Linked DNA regions of Homo sapiens: all the other regions are linked to region 1. Evidence: promoter capture Hi-C in human tissues and cell types (Jung and others, 2019). All regions are on one chromosome and are shown on one strand. The core of a region is centred on a gene start or on the middle of the fragment in contact, and the rest is flanking DNA. Distances in the headings are between cores, read along the strand shown. Region 1 holds the start of LIN7B (lin-7 cell polarity scaffold B). Region 2 holds the start of SLC6A16 (solute carrier family 6 member 16). Region 3 overlaps LOC107985340 (a long non-coding RNA gene). Region 4 holds the start of BAX (BCL2 associated X, apoptosis regulator).

Region 1 (6,851 bases), core at 2,885-5,384:
ATTACTTGAGGTCAGGAGTTCAAGACTAGCCTGGCCAACATGGCAAAACCCTGTCTCTACCAAAAATACAAAAATTACCCTGAGGCCAGGTGCGGTGGCTCATGCCTGTAATCCCAGCTCTTTGGGAGGCTGAGGTGGGCAGACCACCTGAGGTCAGGAGTTTGAGACCATCCTGGCCAACATGGCAAAACCCAATCTCTACTAAAAAATACAAAGCATTAGCCAGGCATGGTAGTGAGCACCTGTAATCCCAGGTACTCGGGAGGCTGAGGCAGAATTGCTTGAACCTGGGAGGTGGAGGTTGCAGTGAGCCGAGATGGTGCCATTGCACTCCAGCCCGGGCAACAGAGTGAGACTCCATCTCAAAAAGAATAAATAAATAATCAATCAGGCTAAGAAAGCCTAAAACCAGACTTTTTCAGGATTTAGGCAGTCTGCTAGTCAGAAGAAAACTCTGGAAGAAGATAACGTTCCGAGTCTCCACATGTACTATTTTTAGTACCCATTACTCAGCATCTACTCAATAGTTACCAGCCTTGCTAGAAAGGACTTAATTTGCTGAAAACCAAGAGGGAAACAAAATAGACAATAGAAAGAGACCCAGGCAGGGGTGATTCAGATGTTGGAGTTATCATAACTATGATATATTCACAAAATAAGGAAAAGATGGAGAATGTTGAGATATCTGGAATCTAGCTACTTGAGAGGCAGAGGTAGGAGGATTCTTTAAGCCAAGGAGTTTGAGATTCAGTGAGCTATGATCACACCACTGCACTCCAGCCTGGGTGACAGGAAGACCCTGCCTCAAAAAAAAAAAAAAAATCTGGAATCTAACAAAAAGTTAAATGGCAATTCTAGAACTAGAAAACACAAGTGAAATTAAGAATTAAGTAGGTGGTGGCCAGGCATGGTGGCTCTGTAAACTCAACACTTTGGGAAGCCAAGGTGGGAGGATCACTTGAGCCCAGGAGATGGAGACCAGCCTGGGCAACATCGCAAAAGCCTGGTCTCTACAAAAAATACAAAAATTAGCCAAACGTGGTGGCGTGCGCCTATGGTCCCAGATAGGAGGCTGAGGTGGAAGGATTACCTGAGCCCAGGGAGGTAAAGGCTGCAGTGAGCCATGATTGCACAACTGCTCTTCAGCCTGGGCAACAAAGTGAGACCCTGTAACGACAACAACAACAAAACACACACACACACACACACACACACACACATATATATGTATATATAGAGAGAGAAATAGCATGTTACTTAGACACAGAAGCAGCTCTCAGACTAAACATCTGTAAGTTCCCTCTCACAGTGAGTAGAGTTAGGAGAGGTAGAGGCTGGTGCTTTTCACTATTATTAGCCTGTCTGTGTTATTTGATTTTGTTTTTAATCCCATAAAGACATTACTTTTTGCTAAAGAGAGAGCTACAGTGAAGGAGACAGCCAGACAAACCTGCTCTAGTCCTCCCACTTGGAACAAGCACTTTTCTGGACTCCATATCGCCACCCAGCAGAACCAGAAGAGCAGCCAACTTTCTCCAAAGTCTTGTCCACATCTCCTCGGCCTCTCTAGAGCATGATACCACTGACCACTTCCTTTTTTTATTTTTTATTTATTTATTTAATTTTCCAAGATGGAGTTTCGCTCTTATTTCCCAGGCTGGAGTGTAATGGCACGATCTCGGCTCACTACAACCTCCACCTCCTGGGTTCAAGCTATTCTCCTGCCTCAGCCTCCCAAATAGCTGGGATTACAGGCACCCGCCACCACGCCCAGCTAATTTTTTGTATTTTTAGGAGAGATGGGGTTTCATGAAGTTGGCCAGGCTGGTCTCAAACTCCTGACCTCAGGTGATCCGCCCGCCTCAGCCTCCCAAAATGCTTACAGGCGTGACCACCACACCTGGCCTCACTTTTTTTGTTTGTTTGTTTGTTTGAGACGGAGTTTCGCTGTTTTTCCCAAAGCTGGAATGCAATGGCATGATCTCCGCTCACCGCAACCTCCGCCTCTTGGGTTCAAGCAGTTCTCCTGCCTCAGCCTCCCCAGTAGTTGGGATTACAGGCATGCACCACCATGCCTGGCTACTTTTGTATTTTTAGTACAGACAGGGTTTCTCCATGTGGTCAGGCTGGTCTCCTGACCTCAGGCGATCCACCCGCCTCGGCCCCCCAAAGTGCTGGGATTCCAGGCGTGAGCCACCATGCCCAGCCACACTTCTTTTTAAAAACACTCGCAGCCAGACACAGCGGTTCGTGCCTGTAAACTCAGCACTTTGGGAGGCCAAGGCAGGGGGATTGTTTGAGCCCAGGAGTTCAAGACCAGCCTGAGCAACAAAGACCCCTCCATCTAAAACAAACAAAAAAAGAAGATAAAATTTAAAAACCCCTCTTCTCATGGTTTCTCCCACCTGGGTTTCTGCCTACATTTCAGGCCATTCTCTGCTGTCCTCCTGACTTTTAAGTGTTAGAGAGGTCTGGGGACCAGTTCTAGGCCGTCTTAATATTCGCTTGCCCCTGACATTCTTATCCACTCCGGTGGTTTTATTTACCACCTATGCCCCAATATTCAAACATGCCTGCAGACCAGGTTGCTCTTTTGAGCCCTAGACCTAGATCGATAGTTTCTCCCCATGGATTCTGCATAGGCTCCTCAAATTCAAAATATCCAGTATCGGCCAGGCAAGGTGGCTCGCGCCTGTAATCCCAGCACTTTGGGAGGCTGAGGCAGGTGGATCACTTGAGGTCAGGAGTTCGAGACCAGCCTGGCCATCATGGTGAAACCCCATCTCTATGAAAAATACAAAAATTTGGCAGGTGTGGAGGTGCACACCTGTACTCTCAGCTACTCAGGAGGCTGAGGCAGGAGAATTGCTTGCACCCGGGAGGCAGAGGTTGCAATGAGCCGAGATCACGCCACTGCACTCGAGACTGGGCAACAGAGGGAAGACTGTGTCTCAAAAACAAAATATCCAGTATCCCTCTTTCAGTGTAGACCATCTTAAAAATGGCACCAAAGCACCTTAATACTGTCTTCTCCTGCACCTCCCAATCCCCTTATATAGCCAAGCACCAAGGCTTGTCTAGACATTTCCCACATCTGCCCACCCATCTTCTGTGCTTTGGCCCTGGTGCTAGCTGCCACCTGGATGGCTGTGGTAGCCTCGTAAGTTGCCCCGCTGCTTCTCCTCTTGTTCTTGTCCAAACCAGTCTCCACAGTGGCTACAGTGATTTTTTTTTTTTCAATAGATACGAGGTCTCACTATATTGCCTATGCTGGTCTTGAACTCCTGGGCTCAAGTAGTCTTGCTGCAGCCTCCCAAAGCGCTAGGATTACAGGTGTGAGCCACCGTGCCCGGCCCCAGTGATCTTAAAATACAAATTTGAGGCCCAACCTGGGCGACAGAGCGAGGCTCCGTCTCAAAAATAATAATAATAATAATATAATAATAATACAAATTTGAGTGTCATATTTTTCTCTTAGGAGTTTGCATGAAGCCCCAAATCCTCAAGGCGCATATGCCAACGCAGGAGCCCAGGCATAAACTATCCTGCCGACCTTTTCACCTCATCATCAACCAATCCTAACTCTGCTTCCAGCCACGTGGGCTCTTTCTGGGTGGTGGGGGTGACCCAAGCTCCACCTCTTGTTCATCTTACCTCCCAGGACTGTATGTCAATGTCCCTCCTCTAGGATTTCCTTCGTTTTCTAGATCATCACCTCCCCACTCTCAGCTCTCATCACAGCCGTAGTTGGTCGTCTACCTCCCCTATAGACTGGAAGCTTCGTTCGGGCCGTGGGCTTGGCTGTCCTGCTCACCACGGTGTCCATGACTTGGGCTCAGATGTTTCACAAGAGTTTGTTGAATGAATGTGGGGAAAGGATGGACAGGGGATAGACGGGTGTGGAGGGCAGGCAGACACGGATCCTGAAAGGTACACACAGACCGAACCTGCAGTGGGAGGGGTCGCCAACAGGACCGACTGGCCGGGGCGGAGGGCAGGGCGCGGCTGGCGCGCGGCAGGTGGTCGGAGCAGTCGGGCGAGGGAGAGCTGGGCGCTCTCCAGGCTGCGCCTCCGCAGGGGGCGCCCGTGGCCCGGGGCGTGGCCTCGCGCAGCCCCGCCCTCCTCGCCGGCGCCAGGGCAGGCGGGCGGCTGGCAGCTGTGGCGCCGACATGGCTGCGCTGGTGGAGCCGCTGGGGCTGGAGCGGGGTAAGCGTGCGCCAGGGGGCCCTGCCCACCCGGGCCGCGGCCTACATACCCAGCCCCCGGTCCCCGCCCTTCCCGGGTCAGGCCAGTGCGGGTGGGCCAGCGGACCCGGAGGGGGTGGGCGGGGCGGGCGCCGGGGCCGGGCGGTCGCTAGGTGTGGGAGGCTCCCTGGGCGCGGGCCGGGACGCTGGGCGCCCGCCTTACAACCCGGCCTGTGGAGGGGTCCCGGGGCCGCAGGGCCGCTGGTGGCAGTCTCTCCTGCGCCACCCTGGACTCTGCGGGGTGTCCGACTAGGCTTCGGCCGTCCTCCCCGGACTGTGCGCTCGGCCTCACTCCGCCGCTCTCCTTGCTTCTCTGCGTCTCGGGGTCTCTGACACTCGGGGTTTCTGCGCCCCGCCCCCGCCCCGCAGACGTGTCCCGGGCGGTTGAGCTCCTCGAGCGGCTCCAGCGCAGCGGGGAGCTGCCGCCGCAGAAGCTGCAGGCCCTCCAGCGAGTTCTGCAGAGCCGCTTCTGCTCCGCTATCCGAGAGGTGAGGGGCGCGCGGCGCAGGGGCGCGAGCTGGTGGCCGTCGTCCTCCTCCTCCTCCTCCTGCTTGTCCCGAGCCCGGAGACTACGCCTCCCGGCAGCTCCCGAGGCGGCCCGCCTTGGGGTGCCAACGCTTCAGCTCAGGGGTTCTTCGGGAGTTGTAGTTTTCTCGGCCTTCTGTTGCGGGGGCGGGGCGGATCCTTGCGTGGTAGCGGGAGAGGGTCTAGAGGCCTGAACTCCTGCGTCTAGGGCTGGAGGAGCTGGCGACTCCCTGATGCCGCTGCCTCCTCACCCAGGTGTATGAGCAGCTTTATGACACGCTGGACATCACCGGCAGCGCCGAGATCCGAGCCCATGCCACAGCCAAGGTGGGCCCCGCACCCCATTGCTCCTGGTGTCTATTTAACTGCCTAGTCGAACTCAATATCTCCTTCATGCCAGTCATTTCTGTTTCCTCCCTCATGATTTTTGCTAAATCTATGTGCCACCTTACTATTAGTAAATAATCGCACATTTTTAACTTAAATGTCATACTAAGGCATCTTTAGCAACTGCAAATGGAAACAGTATGGCATGGTTGGTAGAAGATAACCTTCAACATCTGTACAGTGCAAACCAGGAAACTCATGGCGCTCTGACCTCTCACTGCACAATAGTTAGATGCTGCTACCTCTTGCTGCTGTCCGGAGGCTCAGATCTCCCTCCAGGCCTGGCTTTCCTCTGTTTAAAAGTAAGATTGAGGCCAGGCACGGTGGCTCACGCCTGTAATCCCAACACTTTGGGAGGCCGAGGCAGGTGGATCAGTTGAGGTCAGGAGTTCGAGACCAGCCTGGCCAACATGGTGAAACCCCGTCTCCACAGAAATACAAAAAAAAAAAAAAAGAAAGAAAAAGCCGAGCGTGGTGGCGAGTGCCTGTAATCCCAGCTGGATTACAACTCCGGAGGCTGAGACAGGAGAATCGCTTGAACCCAGGAGGCCGAGGTTGCAGTGAGCCGAGATCATGCCATTGCACTCCAGCCTGGGCAACAGAGTGAGACTTCATCTCAAAAAAAAAAAAAAAGTAAGATTGGCAAGTATGGGGTATTCAAGACACACACCAAATGGACACTTTCTCTTGCAAGTGAACAGAAAGAGACGCACAGTCATTACAGGGGGATCGTGCATTGTGCCATGACAAGTGTCCCATGCTTGGGGATAGTAACCCAGGCTAAATCGCTGTCCTCGGTCCACATCCCCCACCCCAGCTTTCATGCCTACCTGGAAGGGGCCCTCATCTTCAGTCGCTTTCTCTCTCCCAGGCCACAGTGGCTGCCTTCACAGCCAGCGAGGGCCACGCACATCCCAGGGTAGTGGAGCTACCCAAGACGGATGAGGGCCTAGGCTTCAACATCATGGGTGGCAAAGAGCAAAACTCGCCCATCTACATCTCCCGGGTCATCCCAGGGGGTGTGGCTGACCGCCATGGAGGCCTCAAGCGTGGGGATCAACTGTTGTCGGTGAACGGTGTGGTGAGTGGAGGGCTGAGGCAGGACTGGGGGACACAGTCTGTCTAACGTAGCATAGCCCCTGCTTTTGACATTCACTCAACACACACTGAGTGTTGTCTGTATGGCTAGCCCTGTGCTGGGCAATGTTACAGACTCTGAGAGATGTTGGCCTCAGCTCCCTACACTCAACCTTCTCTCTCTGGGGAGGGCAGTAGGCCCCGGCTGAAATAGTCCTAATCCAGAGACATAATAATGAGGAAGTGCAAAGTATTGTGACAGCCCAGATGTGGCACCAGGCCAGCATAGATACAGGAAGGTTTTGCAGAGTAAGGAACATTTGGGTTGGGTGTTAAAGGATGAGTAGGAGTTCTCCAGGCAAACAAGGTACAGGGTGTTCCTGCTGAGGGTACTGTAGATAAGGATACTGACTTGGCATACCTCTGAGCTGAAAAGAAAGGGCTTAGTTCTGATGGAGGTCTGGGGCATGCAGGTAATTAAAATCACTGTGGTTAGGCTGGGTGCGGTGGCTCACACCTGTAATCCCAGCACTTTGGGAGGCTGAGGCACGTGGATCACTTGAGGTCAGGAGTTCAAGACCAGCCTGGCCAACATGGTGAAATCCCATCTCTACTAAA
Region 2 (6,851 bases), core at 1,694-4,193, 210 kb after region 1:
AAACTCAGTTGCATTTTTATACACTAACAATGAACAATCTGAAAAGAAAATTATGAAAACAATTCCATTTGTAATAGCATCAGAAAGAATAAAATACTTAAGAATTAACTTGGCTGGGCACGGTGGCTCAAGCCTGTAATCCCAGCACTTTGGGAGGCCAAAGTGGGCAGATCACCTGAGGTCAGGAGTTCGAGACCAGCCTGACGAACATGGAGAAAACCCGTTTCCATTACCAAGTTACCCAGGCATGGTGGCACATGCCTGTAATCCCAGCTACTCAGGAGGCTGAGGCAGGAGAATCACTTGAACCTGGGAGGCAGAGGTTGCAGTGAGCCGAGATTGCACCATTGCACTCCAACCTGGGCAACAAGAGTGAAACTCCATCTCAAAAAAAAAAAAAAAAAGAATTAACCAAGAAGGTGAAAGACATGTACAAAGAAAACTACAAAACATTGCTGAAAAAAATTAAAGGAGACATAAATAAATGGAAAAATATCCCATGTTCATGGGTTGGAAGACAACACTGTTAAGATGTCAGTATTACCCAAAGCAATCTACAGAATTAGTAGCTTTTTTTTTTTTTTTTTTTTTTTTTTTTTTTTTTTTTTTTTTTTTGCAGAAATAGAAAAACACGTCCTAAAACTAACATGAAATCTCAAGGGACCCTGAACAGCCAAAATAATCTTGAAAAAGAAGAAAAACGCTGGTGTACTCACATTTCCTGATTTCAAAACATATTACAAAGCTATAGTAATCAAAATAGTGTGTTACTCACATAAAGATACAGACCAAGGGAACAGAATAGAGGGCCCAGAAACAATGTATGGAAAAATGATTTTTTACAAGGGTGCCAAGACTACTCAATGAGTAAAGGACAGTCTTTTCAACAAATGGTGCTGGGAAAACTGGATTATGTACAGGCAAAAGAGTAAAGATGGACTCTTACCTAACACCACATACAAATACACAAAATAAATCAAAGACCTAAATGTAACACTTAAAATTATAAAATTCTTAGAATAAAACATACGACAAAAGCTTCATGATAGTGGATCTGCAATGAATTCTTGGATATGATACCAAAGGCAAAAGCAACAAAAGAAGAAACAAACAGGATTTCATTAAAATGTTTTAAATTTGTGCATCAAGAGACACTATCAAAGGGGTGAAAAGATAACCCACAGAATGGGAGGAAATATCTGAAAATCATATGTATAATAAGAGATTAATATTCAGAATATATAGAGAACTCGTAAAACTCAACAACAAAGAAACAAACAACACAATTCAAAAATGGGCAAAAGACTTAAATAGACATTTCTCCAAGGAAGATATACCAATCTCCAAGAAGTACATGAAAAGATGTTCAACGTCACTAATCATTAAGGAAATGCAAATGAAAACTACAATGAGATAATACCTCGCATCCATTAGGATGGCTAATATAAAAAGGCAGAAAATAAGAAGTGTTGGTGAGGATGTGGAGAAATTGGAATCCTTGTGCCTTGCTGGTCAGAATGTAAAATGGTGCAACCACCATGGAAAACACTATGGTGGTTCCTCAAAAACTTAAAAATAGAATTACCATATGATCCAGCAATTCCACTTCTGGGTATACACCCAAAATAAGTGAAAACCAAGCCTCCAGTGGCTCAGCCTGTAATCCCAGCTCTTTGAAAGGCTGAGGTGGAAGGATTGCTTGAGCCCAGAAGTTCGAGGCTGTAGTGAGAGGTGATCATGCCACTGGACTCCAGCCTGGGAGACAGAGAGAGACCCTGTCTCTTAAAAATAATAATAATAGGCTGGGCACGGGGGTTCACACCTGTAATCTCAGCACTTTAGGAAGCTGAGGCGGGTGGATCGGCTGAGGTCAGGAGCTCGAGACCAGCCAGGCCAACACAGTGAAACCCCGTTTCTACTAAAAATACAAAAAATTAGCTGGGGGTGGTGGCGCACGCCTATAGTCCCAGCTACTTGGGAGGCTGAGGCAGGAGAATCGCTTGAACCTGGGAAGCAGAGGTTGCAGTGAGCTGAGATCGTGCCACTGCACTCCAGCCTGGGTGACAGAGTGGGACTCCATCTCAAATAAATAAATAAATAAAAAATAATAGATTCATGTTTCTTAAACACATTCTAGAACAGTTGTCCTTAAAAGCAAGCTTTACGGAAGGGAGAGAACTGAGTTTTGGCCAGCTGGCCACTTCCAACATCCATAAAGCCCCTTGAGCCCCAGGCGGACTCCTCTTCCCATATGGGTGCAACCCTCCATGGTGCCCCTACACCGTCATCCCAAGCAACTCCTAGGCTCATGCCCTGTGGGGAGTGCTCAGGATCCCCCAGAAATGCCCATTCCCCTCACATTACCTCCTTCCCTGGAACTATAACCTCCAGAAAAGGAAAATAAGGAGCTGGTGTCCCATTTCTGCAAAAAGCAGAAAATAACTGCCCTAACAGACCAGTGATGGGGCTAGACCCGGGTTTCTGCCACTCGGGCACTTGACACTGATGGCTTTCCCCAAAGGCAGGGACTGATGGCCGAATCCTGTCAAGGAATTGGCTCAAACTCGGACTGGATGAGTGAGGAGAGCCGAAGACAGTTTCCTCTGTCCTACGTGGGGGGTAAAGGAGGGACCCCTTTGATCCCTCAGCTCCACAGAGCCCAGGGCAACCAGGAGGCTCCCAGCCAGTCACCTGTCACCCGTCAGTGGAGCCCAGTGGGCCCGGGCCTCGAAAATGGCGCCCAGCCCCACACACCCCAGATGTGGGAACATTTTAGGGCTCCCTGGGCCGTGACCCTCACCCTAGCCCCAAGGCTTCTGCCAGGTTCTTCAGTCCAGCCAGTCGGACAAAAATGAGGGTGAAGAAGCCCCAGCTGAGAAGCCTAGCAATCTCCTCAGGCCCCTTCAGGCGTCGACAGATCGGTTTGGGCGACACCCCTCGATCTGCCTGGCGCGCGGCCTTTCCCGCCGATTCTCTGCGCATGCGCCGCCGCGCCCCCTCACTCTTTCCCTACAGCTGTAGCAAACACTGTAACCACTTCGCCCTCCCCAACTCCCTGCTCTCTCCCCACACGCACGCACGTGTGCACATCCTCTGACTGCTCACGCGCCACTCCCTTCCCCACCGCACCCCACCCCGACACCCACGATGCCACGCTTCAGGCGGGGCTCTAAGACAAGGCCTTTCTCTGGCACATGCACTTTGCTTCCACTTCATGTAAGGAAGAAGAGGGTAGGAAGTGGGAGAATCGTCTCATTCATTCCTTCTAGCCTTCAAACCTTTCGCATTTACTTAAAGATCGCCTACTAGAAACCAAACCTTAAATATGCGTCCAACAAGGCAGACAGGGACGTTGCCTTAAGAGAGCTCAGAAGCCTACTAGGGCTGCAGACAAGAATTAAAAACTCAAAGATTTACTTAGGTCATCCGTTCTCATACTTTCCGGTCTCTTAAGAATTATTAAGGACTCCAATAATTTATGAGTTACATTTATATGGGTTGTATGTTTATGTGAGTTGTATCTATCAATATTAAAATAAATTTCTAAAATAGTCATTGTTTAAAAATTCATTATGTGTCAAAATAACATTTTTATTTAAAATAACTATAATTTCTACTCCAAAAGAAATTTTGGCGCTGGGCGCGGTGGCTGACGCCTGTAATCCCAGCACTTTGGGAGGCCAAGGCGGGTGGATCACGAGGTCAGGAGTTCGAGACTAGCTTGGCCAACATGATGAAACCCCGTCTCTACTAAAAGTCAAAAAAAAAAAAAATTAGCCGGGCGTGGTGGCACACACCTGTAATCCCAGCTACTCGGGAGCCTGAGGCAGGAGAATCGTTGGAACCCAGGAGGCAGAGGTTGCAATGAGCCGAGATTTTGCCACTGCACTCCAGCCTAGACAACAGAGCAAGACTCCGTCTCAAAAAAAAAAAGGAAAAAAAAGAAAAAATTTGGGGAGAAGAATGGCATCATTTTACATTTTTGCAAATCTCTCTAATGTCTGGCTTCATAGAAGACAGCTGGATTCTCATATCTGCTTCTGCACTGAGTGTGTCAAAATAGCTCATGTCTTGTAGCTTCTGGCAAACATCACTATATTCAAAGAGGAAATGAAAGTGAAAGGCAAATAATATCTTAGTAGTATTATGAAAATAATGTTCACCTCATGGACCCCCAAAAGTGTTTCAAGAGCCCCCAGGAGTCCCTGAGCCACACTTTGAGAATGAAAGGCTTAAATTGTTATGATTGAACAAAGAGATGAAGAGGAAATTTTGGGGGTGCTGTAAGAATTCATCACAATCTTTGGGAATCATTCAATCTTTCAACACGTATTTATCGAGAGTCTACTAAATGCTAGGAACTGGGAATAGTGTAGAGAACAAAACAGACCCCATTCCTGCCCTCGTTTTGCTTCACACAACAAGAAAACAGATATATGATGAATCTCAAATAATTACATGATTATAAATTGTATTAAGTGCTATGACAGGCCGGGCATGGTGGCTCACGCCTGTAATCCCAGCACTTTGGGAGGCCAAGGTGGGCGGATCACATGAGGCCAGGAGTTCAAGACCAGCCTGGCCAACATGGTGAAACCCCATCTCTACTAAAAATACAAAAACGAGCCAGGTGTGGTGGTGCACGCCTGTAATCCCAGCTACTCGGGTGGCTGAGGCACAAGAATCACTTAAAACCATGAGGCAGAAGTTGCAGTAAGCCAAGATCACACTACTACACTCCAGCCTGGGTGATGGGGTAAGACCCTGTCTCAAGGAAAAAAAAAAAAGTGCTGCGACAGAAAAGGGCCACAGACCTATTTATTTCTATCGAATTTTTTTTTTTTTTGAGACAATCTCACTTTGTCACCCAGGCTGAAGTGCAGTGGCATAATCTCGGCTCACTGCAACCTCTGCCTCCCGGGTTCAAGCAATTCTCCCTGCCTCAGCCTTCCGAGTAGCTGGGGTTGCAGGTGCCTGCCATTACGCCTGGTTAATTTTCATATTTTTAGTAGAGTCAGGGTTTAGTAGAGTCAGCCTGCCATGTTGGCCAGGCTGGTCTTGAACTCCTGACCTCAGGTGATCCGCCCGCCTCAGCCTCCCAAAGTGCTGGGATTACAGGCGTGAGCCACTGCGCCCGGCCCATAGACCTAATTTAGAAGGAGGATTTCTCTAAGGAAATAACACTGGAGTTGAGGCTTAAAGGATTATTTGCTAGGTGAAAAATGTGTGTGAACATCTCAAGCCTTGAGGCTGTGCAAAGGCCCTGAGGCAGGGCAAACTGTGTGTTCAAGGCACCAGGAAAAGTCTCAGTCGGTCAATAAATATTTATTGAATGATGTGCCCCACACTGTCCTAGACCCCTGGGATATAGTTATGAAAAAGATTTTACGTTCCAGTTGCACAAAGAAAGTAAATGCCTAAATAGAAAGAATTTCAGAGAGTAAGAGTGCTGATAGGGAGTTACTTTAGACAGGGTAGTCAAGAAGGACTCTTGGGGAAAGTGATATTTCAGCAGAGAGCTGAAGGAAGGGAGCCTTGTGAACAGCATAGGGAAGAACATTCCAGGCAAAGAAAATGGCAACAGCAAAAGCCTTGAGGCAAGAAGTACACTTGATGGGTTCTGGAAATGGCAAAGAGTCTGATATGAATGGATCCCAGTGATTGAGGAAAGGGTAGCAACAGATCAGATCAGAGCAGTGGCAGGGGCCAGAGTATTATTTGGAGGCCCTTATAGGTCATGGTCGGAATTTTTTTCTTTTTTTTCTGGGTGAGATGAAAGCTATTTGAGGGTTCTGAGTCAAGGAGTGACTTTCATTTTAATGGCAGGCTCCCCCTGGCTTCTGGGCAGAGAATAGCATGTATGGGTGTATTCCTCTGTTTTCACACTGCTGTAAAGAACTGCTCAAGACTGGGTAATTTACGAAGAAAAGAGGTTTAATTGACTCACAGTTCAGCTTGGCTGGGGAGGCCTCAGGAAACTTACAATCATGGCAGAAGGCAAAGGGGAAAAAAGGCACCTTCTTCACAAGCAAAGGAGGGAAGAGCCCCTTATAAAACCATCAGATCTCATGAGAACTCACTCACTATCACAAAAACAGCCTGGGGAAACCACCCCCATGATTCAGTTACCTCCACCTGGTCTCTCCTTTGACACATGGGGATTATGAAGATTATAATTCAAGATGAGATTTTGGGTGGGGACACAGCCAAATCATAGCAATGGGCTAAAGATAGAAGCAGAGAGCCCAGTGAGGAGGAAATCTCTAGTCCAGGCAAGTGATGGTGTTGATTAGATCTGGGTAATAGCAATGGAGATGGTGAAAAGTGGTCAAATTCTGGATCTATTTCAAGAATAGAGCCGACATGATGTGTTGATGGATTGTGTGGTGGTTTTAAAATACGTCTGCAAATTCTTCAACACTTTGAAAGATAAAGTCTATTTCCCCAATCTTTGAGTGCAGGCTCTCCTTAGCAACTGGCTTCCAATGAACATAAGTAATGGTGGGGAACTTCAGGACTAGGTCATAAAAAGCATTGCTGTTTCTTACTTGCCCATTCCCTTCAACTGATTTCTGTAAAGGAAGCCAGTCACCATACGGTGAGGACACTCAAGCAATCTGTGAAGAGATCCATATAAGAGAAGAGCTGAAATTTCCTGCCAGCAACCAGCACCAGGTGAGTGAACCATGGTGAAGTGGATCCTCCAGCCGTAGTTAAATCTCCAGATGACTACAGCCCCAGCCAACATCTTGACTGCAACCTCATAAAACACTGTGAGCAGAAATCATCCAACTAAGCTGCTCCCAGATTCCTGACCCACAAAAACTACAGTAGGTAAGAAATGTTTATTG
Region 3 (6,851 bases), core at 2,955-5,454, 150 kb after region 1:
AATACAAAATTTCAGTTAGATGAAAAGAATAGGTTTAAGATAACTATCATTCAACATGGTGACTAAAGTTAATAACTACACTGTAATCTTGAAAAATGCTGATTTTAAATATTCTCACCACAAAAATATTAGATATGTAAATTAGCTACATTTAGCATTCCACAATGTATATATATTTCAAAACATCATGTTGAACACAAATACATACAATTTCATCTGTCAGTTAAAAAATAATAACATAAAATTTAGAAAGGAATAAAGAAAACCTGAAAGGGTGTCCCAGCTACTACCTAGGTCAAAGTAGTCCTAGCTACTCAGGAGGCTGAGGAGAGAGGATCACTTGAGCCCCAGAAGTTTTGAGGCTGCAGTGAGCTGATCATGCCATTGCACTCCAGTTTGGGCAACAGAGCAAGACCGTGTAGGCAAATTTGAGACTAATGAGTGCTTAAAGTAACAATAGCAGCAATGTATTGTGGGGTTCATAATATGTAGAAGAAAAATATTGGAGAACAATTGAAAAAAAAAATGGTGGGAAAACTAGAAATAGAAGGCAACTTCCTTAATCTACAGCTTCCTTAAGCCTATAACTAACATCACACTGAACAATGAAATATGAATGCTTTTCTCTTGAGTTTGGGGACAAGGTAAGGATGTTCATTCCACATTGTATTAAAGGTCCTAGCCTGTGCAATAAGGCAAGAAAAAAAAGTATAAAGATCAAAGTAAATAAAACTTTCCTTATTTAAAGGTGATGTAAGTATACTGTCAAGAGATCATGTATGTAGCTGGGCACAGTGGCTCATGCTTATAATCCTAGTACTGTGAGGCAGGAGGATCAGTTGAGGCCAGGAGCTCAAGACCAGCCTGGGCAACATAGCAAAACTCCATTTCTACAAAAATTGAAATAAAAAATTGGCCAGATGTGGTGGTACACGCCTGTAGTCCTAGCTACACAGGAGGCTGAGGAGAGAGGATCTCTTCAGCCCAGGAGTTTGAGGCTGCAGTGAGCTGATATGCCACTGCATTCCAGCTTGGACAAAAGAGTAAGACCCTGTCTCAGGAAAAAAAAAACCCAGATATTGTATATGTAAAAAGAATCTACAAATGGATGAAATTAAGTTTGTAATCGAATTTAGCAAAGTTCCTATATATAAGGCGATTGTACAAAAAATTATATTTTTGTATAGTAGCAACAAATAATTGGAAAATACTATTTTAAAACATCAAAGAAATTTAATACTTAGTAATCAATGTAGTTAAAATGTGTAAGACCTCGCTGAAAACTACAAAACAATGCAAAACACTTAGAGAATTTTACCATGTTCATGAGTTGGCAAGTTGAACATTTTTACAATGTCAATTATCCCCAAATTGATCTACAGATTCAGGGCAATCTTAAACACAAAATCCCATATTGTTGGTTTTTTGGAAACAGACAAGCTCGTTCTAAAATTATATGGAAAGCCAAAGACCTTAGAATGGCTAAGGCTATCTTGAAGAAGACCAAAGTTGGAAGACTTAACTTACCGTGGACTTATCTTATTATCTTAAGATTTACTCTAAGGCTACATAATTAAAACAGGAGGGGAGGGGCGGGGGAGATGGGGGAGGGGCTGGAGAGAGGGGTGGGAGTGTGGTGTTGGCAAAGGATAATAAATAGATCAATGGAAAAGAGAGTCCATAAATATACTCCAGCCTATGTGGTCACTTAATTTATAATAGAATTGCCACTGTGATTGGGTGGCGATGGATGGTCTTTTCAATAAGTAGTGCCAGAATAATGATATCTATGTAGAAAATAAGCTTGAGCCCACCTCACATGACACACGAACATTAATTCAAGATGAATCATAGATATAAATGTGGAGGGTAAAACAAAAGAGATTCCAAAAAAATATGAAAATATCACTTTGACTTTGGGTAGCACATTTTCTTAAATATACACAAAGAAAGCACTAAGAAAATTAGAACTCAACCTCATTAAAATTAAGACGTTTTTAAAAATTCAATGACATCTTTAAGAAAGTAAATAGGTAAGCCACAGACGGAACACATTTGTAATGCACACATGTGACAAATGACTTGTATTCAGAATATAAATAATGCCTACAAAACAATAAAAAAAAAAAGCCTAAGAAAAGGTGAAAGACTTGAACAGGGACTTCACAAAAGCAGCTATTCAGATGACCAATAGCCATATAAAAGTGCTAGATATCATTACTCATGATGAAAATGCAAATTAAAGCCACAATCAGGTACTACCGCACAGCTACCAGCACGACCAAAACTGAAAACACTGAGCTCATCAGATACTGTCCAGAATGTGCAGTGACCGCAGCGCCCTTCCATCGCTGGCGGGAGCGGAAAGTGATTTCACCATTTTGGACGGGTGTTTGGCAGACTCCCTAAAGACAAAAACACCTGTTCTATGACCCATAAAGTCACGTCTATGTGCATAAAAATATGTACGAGAATATTTGTTGCCACTTTATTCACAATAGCCTCCAAATAGTGGCATATTCATACAATGTAATACACAATAAAAAAGATCCAGTTACTGATGCCCCCAAAACACGAAGCTCAAAAGCTTTTCAGATTTAATTAATAATTTTAATGGTTAATAAAGTATATTCTTTTTAAATTTAAAAATATTTAATTGACAAAAACTGTATATATTCAAGGCATAATATGATTTATGTATACACTGTATAATGATTACCACAATCAAATTAACACATCCATAACCACCATAATTATCGTGTGTGTGCGCGTGCGTATGTATGTGATGAGGACACTTAAAATCTGTTCTCTGGCCGGGCGTGGTGGCTCACGCCTGTAATCCCAGCACTTTGGGAGGCCGAGGTGGGCAGATCACCTGAGGTCAAGAGTTCAAGACTAGCCTGGCCAACGTGGCAAAACTACTAAAAATACAAAAATTAGCCAGGTGTGGTGGTGGGTGCCTGTAATCCCAGCTACTCGGGAGGCTGAGGCAGGAGAATCACTTGAACCCAGGAGGCAGAGGTTGTAGTGAGCTGAGATTGCACCAGTGTACCCTAGCCTGCACGATGGAGCGAGACTGTCTCAAATAAAAAAAAAAAAATCTGTTCTCTTATCAAATTCAGGTAAATAATACAGTATTATTAACTGTAGCCACCATGTATATATTAGATCCCCAGAACTTAATAATCTTATAACTCAAAGTTTGTACCCTTTAACCAACATCTCCCCATTCCCCATAAGCCCTAGCATCTGCCAAAGCTGCACAGCAGGAAAAAAAAAAAAAGAGGCTAGGCGCGGTGGCTCACGCCTGTAATCCCAGCACTTTGGGAGGCCGAGACAGGTAGATCACGAGGTCAGAAGATCGAGACCATCCTGGCTAACATGGTGAAACCCCGTCTCTACTAAAAATACAAAAAATTAGCTGGGTGTGGTGGCGGGTGCCTGTAGTCCCAGCTACTCGGGAGGCTGAAGCAGGAGGATGGCATGAACCCGGGAGGCGGAGCTTGCAGTGAGCGGAGATTGCGCCACTGCACTCCAGCCTGGGTGACAGAGTGAGACTCCATTTCAAAAAAAAAAAAAAAAAAAAAAAAGGCAATCTATGGAATCAGAAAATATTTGCAATGTACATCCGAAATATGAATGGAACTCATACAACTTAATAGCAAACAAACCAAACGACCTAATTAAAAAGTGGACAAAGGACCTGAGTAGATATTTCTCCAAAGAAGACATACAAATGGCCAACAAGTATATAAATAAATGCTCAACATCAGCCGGGTTCAGTGGCTCAGCACTTTGGGAGGCTGAGGCAGGTGGATCACCTGAGGTCAGGAGTTGGAGACCAGCCTGGCCAATATGGTGAAACCCCATCTCCACTAAAAATACAAAAAATTAGCTGGGCATGATGGCATACGCCTTTAGTCCCAGCTACTCAGGAGCTGAGGCAGGAGAATCACTTGAACCCCGGAGGCGGAGGTTGCAGTGAGCTGAAATCATGCCACTGCACTCCAGCCTCCTGGGCAACAGAGTGAGACTCCATCTCAAAAAAAAAAAAAATGCTCTGGCTATTCAGGGTCTTTTGTTATTCCATACTCTGGGCGGCAAGCCACCTAGGAGCCAAGGCAAGAGACCGAGGGCATGAGCTGTTCCACTATAGTAAAATATGTAAAAACAACAAGAGTTATACTAGATCTAGATCATAGACATGATTACATATGAATATCATTAATCATTAGTTTGTAGCAATTACTCTTTATCCCAATATTATAATAATCCTCGCTCTACAATCATAACCTAGGAAAAACCAGGCCATACAGAGACAGGAGGTGAGCGGACATAGTGAGAAGTGACCAGAAGACAAGAGTGCGAGCCTTCTGTTATGCCCAGACAGGGCCACTAGAGGGCTCCTTGGTCTAGCGGTAACGCCAGCGTCTGGGAAGACAACCGTTGCCAAGCAGACTGTGGTCTAGCGGTAGCGTCAGTGCCAAGGAAAAACACCCACTACTTAGCAGACTGGGAAAGGGAGTCTGCCTTTCCCCGGGGGAGTTTAGAGAAGACTCTACTCCTCCACCTCTTGTGGAGGGCCTGACATCAGTCAGGCTCACCCGCAGTTATCCAGAGGCCTAACCATCTCCCTGTGATGCTGTGCTTCAGTGGTCACGCTCCTAGTCCGCTTTCATGTTCCATCCTGTACACCTGGCTCTGCCATTTAGATAGCAGTAGCAAAATCAGTGAAAGTACTAAAAGTCCCTGATATGCAGAAATAATGGCATAAGCTGTCTCTCTCTCCTTTCTCTGCCTCGGCTGCCAGGCAGGGAAGGGCCCCCTGTCCAGTGGACACATGACCCAGGGGACCTTACCTATCATTGGAGATGACTCACACTCTTTACCCTGCCCCTTTGTCTTGTATCCAATAAATAACAGCACAGCCAGATATTTGGGGCCACTACCAGTCTCTGCCTCTTGGTGATAGTGGTCCCCCGGGCCCAGCTGTCTTTTATCTCTTTGTTTTGTGTCTTTATTTCTACAATCTCTCATCTCCACACACACGGAGAAAAACCCACTGACCCTGTGGGGCTAGTCCCTACACCATACAAATTTTAGGATTTTTTTGTGAAAAATGTCATTGGTATTTTTGCAGGAATTGCATTGAATCTGTACATTACTTTGAGTAGTATGGACACTTTAGCAATATTAATTCTCCCAATCCATGAGCATTGGATGTCTTTCCATTTATTAGTAATCTCTTCAATTTCTTCCACCAATTTTTTATAGTTTTCATTGTAGAGATCTTTTACCTCCTTGGTTAAATTTGTTCCTATGTATTTTATTTTTGTTATTATTGAAAACAGGATTGTTTTCTTGATTTCTTTTTCAGATAGTTTGGTGTTGGTATATAGAAACACTAGTGATTTTTGTATGTTAATTTTGTGTCCTACAACTTCACTGAACTTGTTTAATCTAACAGGTTTTTGGAGAGGCTGTAGGGTTTTCTATATATAAGATCATGTCTTCTGCAAACAAGGACAATTTGACTTCCTTCTTTTCAGTTGGATGCTTTTTTTTCTCTTGAGATGGAGTTTCGCTCTTGTTGCCCAGGCTGGAGTGCAATTACATGATCTTGGCTCACCACAACCTCTGCCTTCTGGGTTCAAGTGATTCTCTTGCCTCAGCTTCCCGAGTAGCTGGGATTACAGGCATGCGCCCCCACCCCTGGATGCCCTTTCTTTCTTTCCCTGGCCTAATTGCTCTGGCTAGGACTCCCAGTACTATGTGGAATAGAAGTGGTACAACCTTGTGTTTTTCTGTATTTTAGAGGCAAAGCTTTCAACTTTTTCCCCATTGAGTATGATGCTAGCTGTGGGTTTGTTATATATGGCCTTTATTGTAACCAACTATGTTCCTGCTATATCTAATTTGTTAAGGGTTTTCATCATGAAGGCATGTTGAATTTGAGATCATATGGTTTTTGTCCTTCTATTAATGTGATGTATCATGTTTATTGATTTGCATATGTTGAACCATCCTTGCATCCCTGGGATGAATCCCACTTAATCATGGCAAATGACCTTCTTGATGTGCTATTTTAAAGAAATAGCATCGGCCAGGCCCAGTGGCTCACACCTGTAATCCCACCTTTTTGGGAAGCCGAGGCAGGAGGATTACCTGAGCTCAGGAGTTTGAGACTAGCCTGGGCAACATGGTGAAACCCTGTCGCTACTAAAATACAAAAAGTTAGCTGGGCATGGTGGAGTGCACCTGTAGTCCCAGCCACTCAGGAGACTGAGGCAGGAGAATCACTTCAACCAGGTGGAGGTTGCAATAAGCTGAGATCACGCCACTGCACTCCAGCCTGGGTGACAGAGTGAGACTCTGTCTCAAAAAAAAAAAAAAAAAGAAGGAAAGAAATAGGGTCTATGTTGCCCAGGCTGGACTTGAACTCCTGGACTCAACTGATGTTTCCACCTCAGCCTCCCAAGTAGCTGGGAGTACAGGCACGTGTCACCATGCCCAGCTACAGTTCTTTAAATGTTTGGTAGAATTTGTAACTGAATTCATTAGATCCAGAGCTTTTTTTCAATGGAAAACTTTTTATTAATTCAAGCTTGTTGCTCATTATTGGTCTGTTCAGGTTTTCTAATTCTTCATAATATTGGCTGGTTATATGTGTCCAGGAATTTATCCATTTCTTCTAAGTTTTCCATATAGTTGTTCATAATAGTCTCTAATGATCCTTTGTAGTTCTGTGATACCAATTGTGATGTCTCCTTTGTCATTTTTTTTTTTTTTTGAGACACTCTCACTCTTGTTGCCCAGGCTGGAGTACAATGGCGTGATCTCAGCTCACTGCA
Region 4 (6,851 bases), core at 1,704-4,203, 160 kb before region 1:
TCCTGATCCAATGTTGACCTTGCTTTGCTCTAAGCTATCATTTGGTTGTCACCTAAGCTCTACCCTCCCCCTTTATCTTGGCTTTTTCTTTTCTTTTTTCTTTTTGAGACAGGCTCTTCCTCTGTCACCCAGTCTGATTGCAGTGATGCAATTGATCACAGCTCACGGCAGCCGGGACCTCCCAAGCTCAAACAATCTTCCCACCTCAGCCTCCCAAGTAGCTGGGACTACAGGCACGCACCACCACATCCAGCTAATTTTCTTTTTTTTCTGCTTCCTTTTCTTTTTGTTTTTTTTTAGATAGAGGCTTGCTCTGTTGCCCAGGCTGGGGTGCAGTGGCACGATCTTGGCTCACTGCAACCTCTGCCTCTTGGGTTCAAGCGATTCTCCTGCCTCAGCCTCCCAAGCAGCTGGGACTGCAGGCACGCGCCACCACTCCCAGCTAATTTTTTTGTATTTTTAGTGGAGACGGGGTTTCGCCATGTTGGCTAGGCTGGTCACAAACTCCTGACCTCAGATGATACACCCACTTCGGCCTCCCACACAGCTGGTATTACAGGTGTGAGCTACCACGCCCGGCCCCCCCTCCTTTCTTTTGTTTTTTAGTTGACACAGGGTCTCACCATGGTACAGCCCAGGCTGGTCCTGAACTCCTGGCTTCAGGTGATCCTCCTGCCTTGGCCTCCCAAAGTGCTGGGACTATAGGAATGAGCCATCACACCTGGCCCCTTTCTTCAATTTTCAAAACAAACTGATCCTTCAAGGTCAAGAGGAAATACCTCCTCTGAGAAGTCTTCTCTGAATGTCAGAGGCAGACAATGTCTGATTTCTGCATGCTCCCCAACATTCAATCATACAGTTATTGAATAACACATTTTGAGAGATAACTATGAATCAAGTAACATGCTGGTTTCTGGGAGAATTGAGGACAAATTAACCTTGTGGAAATTTTGGGTGGATGAAAAAAACCAACATGAAATTAAAACACTGCACACATTTACAGCTGTGAGAAGCATTACACATCCTGGGTGCTATGCGAGCTTTTTTTTTTTTTTTTTTTTTTTTTGAGTTGGAGTTTCCCTCTTGTTACTGAGGCTGGAGTGCAAGGTCACGATCTCAGCTCACTGCAACCTCTGCCTCCAGATTCAAACGATTCCCCTGCCTCAGCTCCCGAGTAGCTGGGACTACAGGTGCCTGCCACCACACCTGGCTAATTTAGAATTTTTAGTAGGGATAGGGTTTCACCGTGTTGGCCAGGCTGGTCTCAAACTCCTGACCTCAGGTGATCTACCCATCTCGGCCTCCCAAAGTGCTGGGATTACAGAAGTGAGCCACTGAGCCCAACCAGGAGCTTTTTCGAGAAAGAAGGAAGTCCAAGAGATCTTCCTGACACCCTAGTCTGACTCTGCCCTTTGCCTGCTCAAAATTTCCCCATGCTTCCCAGCGGCCTTCTGGACATAGATCAAGTCCCTTCTCTGACAGGCCCAAACCCTTTATCATCTGATCCTAGCTCATTTTTCTGAGTTTTCCTTAGTTGCTATTATTTTCTGTCTAAAGTGACATGTCATAATATTCATAAAGCACACAAGTCTTATGTGTACAGCTCAATGAATTGTAAATATGTGTATACCCGGCCGGGCACAGTGGCTCACGCCTGTAATCCCAGCACTTTGGGAGGCCGAGGCAGGTGGATCACTTGAGGTCAGGAGCTTGAGACCAGCCTGACCAACATAGTGAAACCCCATCTTTACTAAAAATACAAAATTAGCTGGGCGTGGTGTCGCATGCCTGCAATTCCAGCTACTTGGGAGGCTGAGGCAGGAGAATTGCTTGAACCCGGAGGCAGAGGTTGCAGTAAGCCGAGATCGTGCCATTGCACTCCATCCTGGGCAACAAGAGCAAAACTCCGTCTCAAAATAATAATAATAATAATAATAATAATAATAATAATAATGTGTATACCCATGTAAACACCATTCAGATAAAAATATGGCATATTTGGGGCACCCGGGGAGTGTCTCTTGTGGCCCCTCCCCTCCATACCCTGCTGATCTATCAGCACAGATTAGTTTCTGCCACTTTTTAAACTTCATATTCCTTTTCTTTTTACACAAACACAAACATTCGAGTCATGACTGGGTGGGGTGGCTCAAGCCTGTAATCTCAGCACTTTGGGAGGCCAAGGTGCGAGGATCGCTTGAGTCTGGGAGTTCAGAGACCAGCCTGGGCAACATAGAGAGACCTCATCTCCACATAAAAAGTTTTAAAAATTAACCAGGGGCGGTGTAGTCCCAGCTACTCAGGAGGCTGAGGTGGGAGGCTTCAGCCCGGGAATTCCAGACTGCAGTGAGCCATGATTGGGCCACTGCACTCCAGCCTGGGCAACACAGTGAGACCCTGTCTCAAAAAAAAAAAAAAAAAAAACAGGAAAAAACAAACAAACAGAAAAGCAGGCCTGGCGCGGTAGCTCATGCCTGTAATCCCAGCGCTTTGGAAGGCTGAGACGGGGTTATCTCTTGGGCTCACAAGTTAGAGACAAGCCTGGGCGTGGGCTATATTGCTAGATCCAGGTCTCTGCAAAAAACAAAACCACTCAGTTTTTAGTCATCTATAACGTCCTGCCTGGAAGCATGCTATTTTGGGCCTCTGAGCTTTTGCACTTGCTAATTCCTTCTGCGCTGGGGAGAGCTCAAACCCTGCCCGAAACTTCTAAAAATGGTGCCTGGATAAATGAAGGCATTAGAGCTGCGATTGGACGGACGGCTGTTGGACGGCGCCACTGCTGGCACTTATCGGGAGATGCTCATTGGACAGTCACGTGACGGGACCAAACCTCCCGAGGGAGCGAGGCAGGTGCGGTCACGTGACCCGGCGGCGCTGCGGGGCAGCGGCCATTTTGCGGGGCGGCCACGTGAAGGACGCACGTTCAGCGGGGCTCTCACGTGACCCGGGCGCGCTGCGGCCGCCCGCGCGGACCCGGCGAGAGGCGGCGGCGGGAGCGGCGGTGATGGACGGGTCCGGGGAGCAGCCCAGAGGCGGGGGTGAGGCGGGAGGCAGACGGGCGGGAGGAGGGCGAGCCCCCTCGCCGGCCCGTCCGGGATCCTTCCTACCGGCCTGGGGCTGTGCGATCTCCAAGCACTGAGGGGCAGAAACTCCCGGATCGGGCGCTGCCAGCCTCCAGTCCCCTCCGTCCTCGGAGGTTCCTGGCTCTCTGATCCCCGTGTCCCGATCCCTGCCTCTCTGGCGCTCTCGGACCCTCGAGAACCAGGGGATCTCGGAAGCCAAGCCCCCGGGCAGGCCCGGGCTTGTCGCCCGCACCACTTCCTGCCTCTGGCACTGGTGGGAGGGGCGGGTCTCGCCTCTGCCCCCTCAGGCCAGGGGTCTGGATGCATATAGCGTTCCCCTAGCCTCTTTCCCCGGGGAGAATGTAGGATACAGGCCCAGCCTCCTGGCCTTTCTCCATCAGGGACTCAGTTGTCTGGGCCCCCCCGTCACTTTATCTGCTAGGGTCCCAGAAGTCCAGGGTCCCCAGCTCTGTCCTCCCTCAGGGGCCGTGAGTCTCCACAGTCTCCTGATCCCCTAGAACCCAAGAGTCCAGGTACCTCTTCCCTTCCTTTCTCCTCTAGGGCCCACCAGCTCTGAGCAGATCATGAAGACAGGGGCCCTTTTGCTTCAGGGGTGAGTTTGAGGTCTGATTATTGTGGCACAGATTTGAGGAGTGACACCCCGTTCTGATTCTGCACCCTCACTCCATCCCCACTCTAGTTTCATCCAGGATCGAGCAGGGCGAATGGGGGGGGAGGCACCCGAGCTGGCCCTGGACCCGGTGCCTCAGGATGCGTCCACCAAGAAGCTGAGCGAGTGTCTCAAGCGCATCGGGGACGAACTGGACAGTAACATGGAGCTGCAGAGGTGTGGGCCCCTGAGGACCCAGAAGTCCAGCCACTGGGCTCCTTCAGGACACAGGACTCTCAGCCCCGCATTCTCCTCCTCCCCTAAGAACTAGGAGTCTGGGCCCCACAACTCAGCGCAAACATTCCGGACTCCCAGCCCTCCTCTCTGCCAGGATCTTAAAACCCTCCTTCAGGGAGTCATTTTTCCCACCTTCCTAAATGTCTGTCTTGTCCCCTTCCCTTGTCCCCCGTTGGCCTGTTGCTTTTCATTTCAGCCTGGCTTGGGGCTCAGTCTCCTTATCTTTAGTGTGCGGTGGATGCGGGAATTTTCCACCATCAGCCTGATGCCTGCTCCCCGGCACTGGTTCTCCTCTCTCCTGCAGGATGATTGCCGCCGTGGACACAGACTCCCCCCGAGAGGTCTTTTTCCGAGTGGCAGCTGACATGTTTTCTGACGGCAACTTCAACTGGGGCCGGGTTGTCGCCCTTTTCTACTTTGCCAGCAAACTGGTGCTCAAGGTGGGCAGCTGCAGGGCAGTGAGCCCAGGGATGCTCCCCCTCAGATCTGTGAGGACCTGGGGATCGTGGTATCAACCCCCTGCAGTGGCCCAGTGACCACAGAGGGCATGGAGAGAGATGGCTGTGCACTGGGTGTCTGCTCCTTCTTTTATTCATTCAACAAGCATTTACTGGACCTGCTATGTGCCAGGCCTATACCTGGCACCTGGGACACAGCACTGTACAAAGCAGGCTACATCCCTGCTCTCAGGGAGTTCACGTGCAGGGGTGAAGTAAAGTGGGCAGTGTGATTTAGCAGAGTGGTCAGGAAAGATTTCTATTTTTTTTTTTTTTTTTTTTGAGATGGAGTTTTGCTCTTGTTGCCCAGGCTTGAGTGCAATGGCATGATCTTGGTTCACTGCAACCTCTGCCTCCCAGGTTCAAGCGATTCTCCTGCCTCAGCTTCCTGAGTAGCTGGGATTATGGGTGTGCACCATTATCCCTGGCTTTTTTTTTTTTTTTTTTTTTTTTTGTATTTTTAGTAGAGACGGGTTTCACCATGTTGGTCAGGCTGGTCTTGAACTCCTGACCTCAAGTGATCCACCTGCCTTGGCCTCCCAAAGTGCTGGGATTACAGGCATGAGCCACCGCAACAAGCCAGGAAAGACTTCTAAGGGCAGGTGACATCAAAGAGCAGGTGACATTAAAGCCAAAGCTAGAATGATAAGAAGCATGCAGTGATCTATAGTGATCGGGGGGAAGAGGCATCTGGTAGAGGGAACAGCAAGTGCAAAGGCCCTGAGGTAGGACCAAGCCTCATCTTTTGACAGTAGGGAGGAGGCCAGTGCTGTTGGAACAGAGTGAACTGGGGAGAGGGTGGGAAAGGAAGGCACAGTTGGGCAGGGGCAGATTGTGTGGAGTTTTTCGGGCTGCTGGAAAGACTTTTTCTTTTCTTTTTTTTTTTTTTTTTTTTTTTTTTTGAGACAGAGTCTCACTTTGTTGCCCAGGCTGGAGTGCAATGGCGCCATCTCGGCTCACTGCAACCTCTGCCTCCCGGGTTCAAGTGACTCTCATGCTTTAGCCTCCCAAGTAGCTAGAATTACAGGCACACACCACCATGCCTGGCTAGTTTTTGTATTTTTAGTAGAGACGGAGTTTCGCCATGTTGGCCAGGCTGGTCTCAAACTCCTGGCCTCAAGTGATCCGCCCACCTTGGCCTCCCAAAGTGCTGGGATTACAGGCGTGAACCACTGCACCCAGCCTGGAAAGACTTTAACTTTACTCTGAGTGTGATGGGAGTGATTGGCTGGTTTTAAATACGGAAGCGACAAGACCTGATTTATAACTTTAAGAGATTATTCTAGCAAGTATAGATGCCCCTTGACTTGCAATGGTGTTACATCCTAGTAATCCCATCATAAATTGAAAATAACATAAGTTGAAAATGCATTCAATGCCCCGATAAACCCATAGTAAGGTCAAAATTGTAAGTCAAACCGTCATAAGTTGGGGACTGTCTGTATAGCAAAATGTTAATTGTAGAATCTAATTATAGGTGGCGGCTATATGGCTTTTAACTGTGAAATTCTTTTAACTTTTCATTATGAAGATTCTCATAAGAAAATGTGGTGGGGGTGGTGGTGAAATGCTCCTGGCTGTTGTTGGCCAAAAGAGATCATGAGGCACAAGGGCAGAAGCGAGGATCCTGGAGAGGTGGCACCTGTCATAGTCTTGCTGAAAGATGACAAGCCCTGGTGGTAGCAGCAGAGGTGCGGGGGGGGCATTTTTTTTTTTAAGAGGTAGGGTCTTGCTCTGTTGGCCAGGCTGGAGTGCAGTAGTGATCATAGCTCACTGCAGCCTCAAACCGCTGGGGTCAAGCAGTTCTCTCGCCTCAGTCTCCAGAGTAGCTGAGACTACAGGAGCATGCCACCACGCCCCACTAACTGTTGCATTAGTCTTTTTCTATAGAGACGGGGTCTCGCTATGTTGTCCAGGCTGGTCTCCAACAGGGAGGGATATTTCTTTTTGGAAGATTTTTTTTTTTTTTTTTTTTTTTTTTTGATACAGGGTCTCGCTCTGTTACCAAGGCTGGAATGCAGTGGCATGACCTTGGCTCACTGCAGTCTCCACCTCCTGGGTTCAAGCAATTCTACCTCAGCCTCCTGAGAAGCTGGGATTACAGGCTCTCCCCACCACACCAGCAAATGGGAGGGATATTTCTTTCTTTCTTTCTTTTTTTTTTTTCCTGAGACGGAGTCTCTCTCGGTTGCACCCAGGCTGGAGTGCAGTGGCGCGATCTCAGCTCACTGCAACCTCCACCTCCTGGGTTTAAGCGATTCTCTTGCCTCAGTCTCCCGAGTAGCTTGGGATTACAGGCGTCCGCCACCACACCCAGCTAATTTTTGCATTTTTAGTAGAGATGGGGTTTCACCATGTTGGCCAGGCTGGTCTCGAACTCCT

The links. The method cuts DNA at HindIII sites, captures the fragments that hold promoters and counts their contacts. A contact is called where the count stands out against the background at its distance.
Region 2: the fragment with the promoter of SLC6A16 here is called in contact with the fragment with the promoter of LIN7B in region 1 in 2 of the 25 tissues and cell types used here (adrenal gland and mesenchymal stem cells).
Region 3: a fragment that was not itself captured here is called in contact with the fragment with the promoter of LIN7B in region 1 in 2 of the 25 tissues and cell types used here (liver and thymus).
Region 4: the fragment with the promoter of BAX here is called in contact with the fragment with the promoter of LIN7B in region 1 in 4 of the 25 tissues and cell types used here (aorta, heart left ventricle, neural progenitor cells and 1 more).

The regions. Positions count from the first base shown.
Region 1 is chr19:49,110,236-49,117,086 of GRCh38, forward strand. LIN7B (lin-7 cell polarity scaffold B) reads left to right here and starts at 4,135. Exons shown (of 6, transcript NM_022165.3): 1 at 4,135-4,206; 2 at 4,614-4,732; 3 at 5,025-5,096; 4 at 6,028-6,237. The coding sequence starts at 4,170. RefSeq lists a silencer at 3,955-4,534. The HindIII fragment of the contact is 18,984 bases long and covers 80-6,851 here.
Region 2 is chr19:49,322,248-49,329,098 of GRCh38, forward strand. SLC6A16 (solute carrier family 6 member 16) reads right to left here and starts at 2,944. Exons shown (of 12, transcript NM_014037.3): 1 at 2,801-2,944. RefSeq lists an enhancer at 4,108-4,257 and a silencer at 5,051-5,202. The HindIII fragment of the contact is 19,669 bases long and covers 1,599-6,851 here.
Region 3 is chr19:49,262,142-49,268,992 of GRCh38, forward strand. All of the region lies in intron 2 of LOC107985340 (a long non-coding RNA gene), which reads left to right. Among named protein-coding and RNA genes, the nearest start is that of MIR4324, 43 kb to the right of the region's middle. The HindIII fragment of the contact is 4,018 bases long and covers 2,196-6,213 here.
Region 4 is chr19:48,951,922-48,958,772 of GRCh38, forward strand. It overlaps BAX (BCL2 associated X, apoptosis regulator), which reads left to right and starts at 2,954. Exons shown (of 6, transcript NM_138761.4): 1 at 2,954-3,041; 2 at 3,627-3,678; 3 at 3,766-3,912; 4 at 4,277-4,412. The coding sequence starts at 3,008. RefSeq lists enhancers at 2,633-3,201, 3,202-3,769, 3,219-3,428 and a silencer at 2,949-3,098. The HindIII fragment of the contact is 13,021 bases long and covers 1-6,851 here.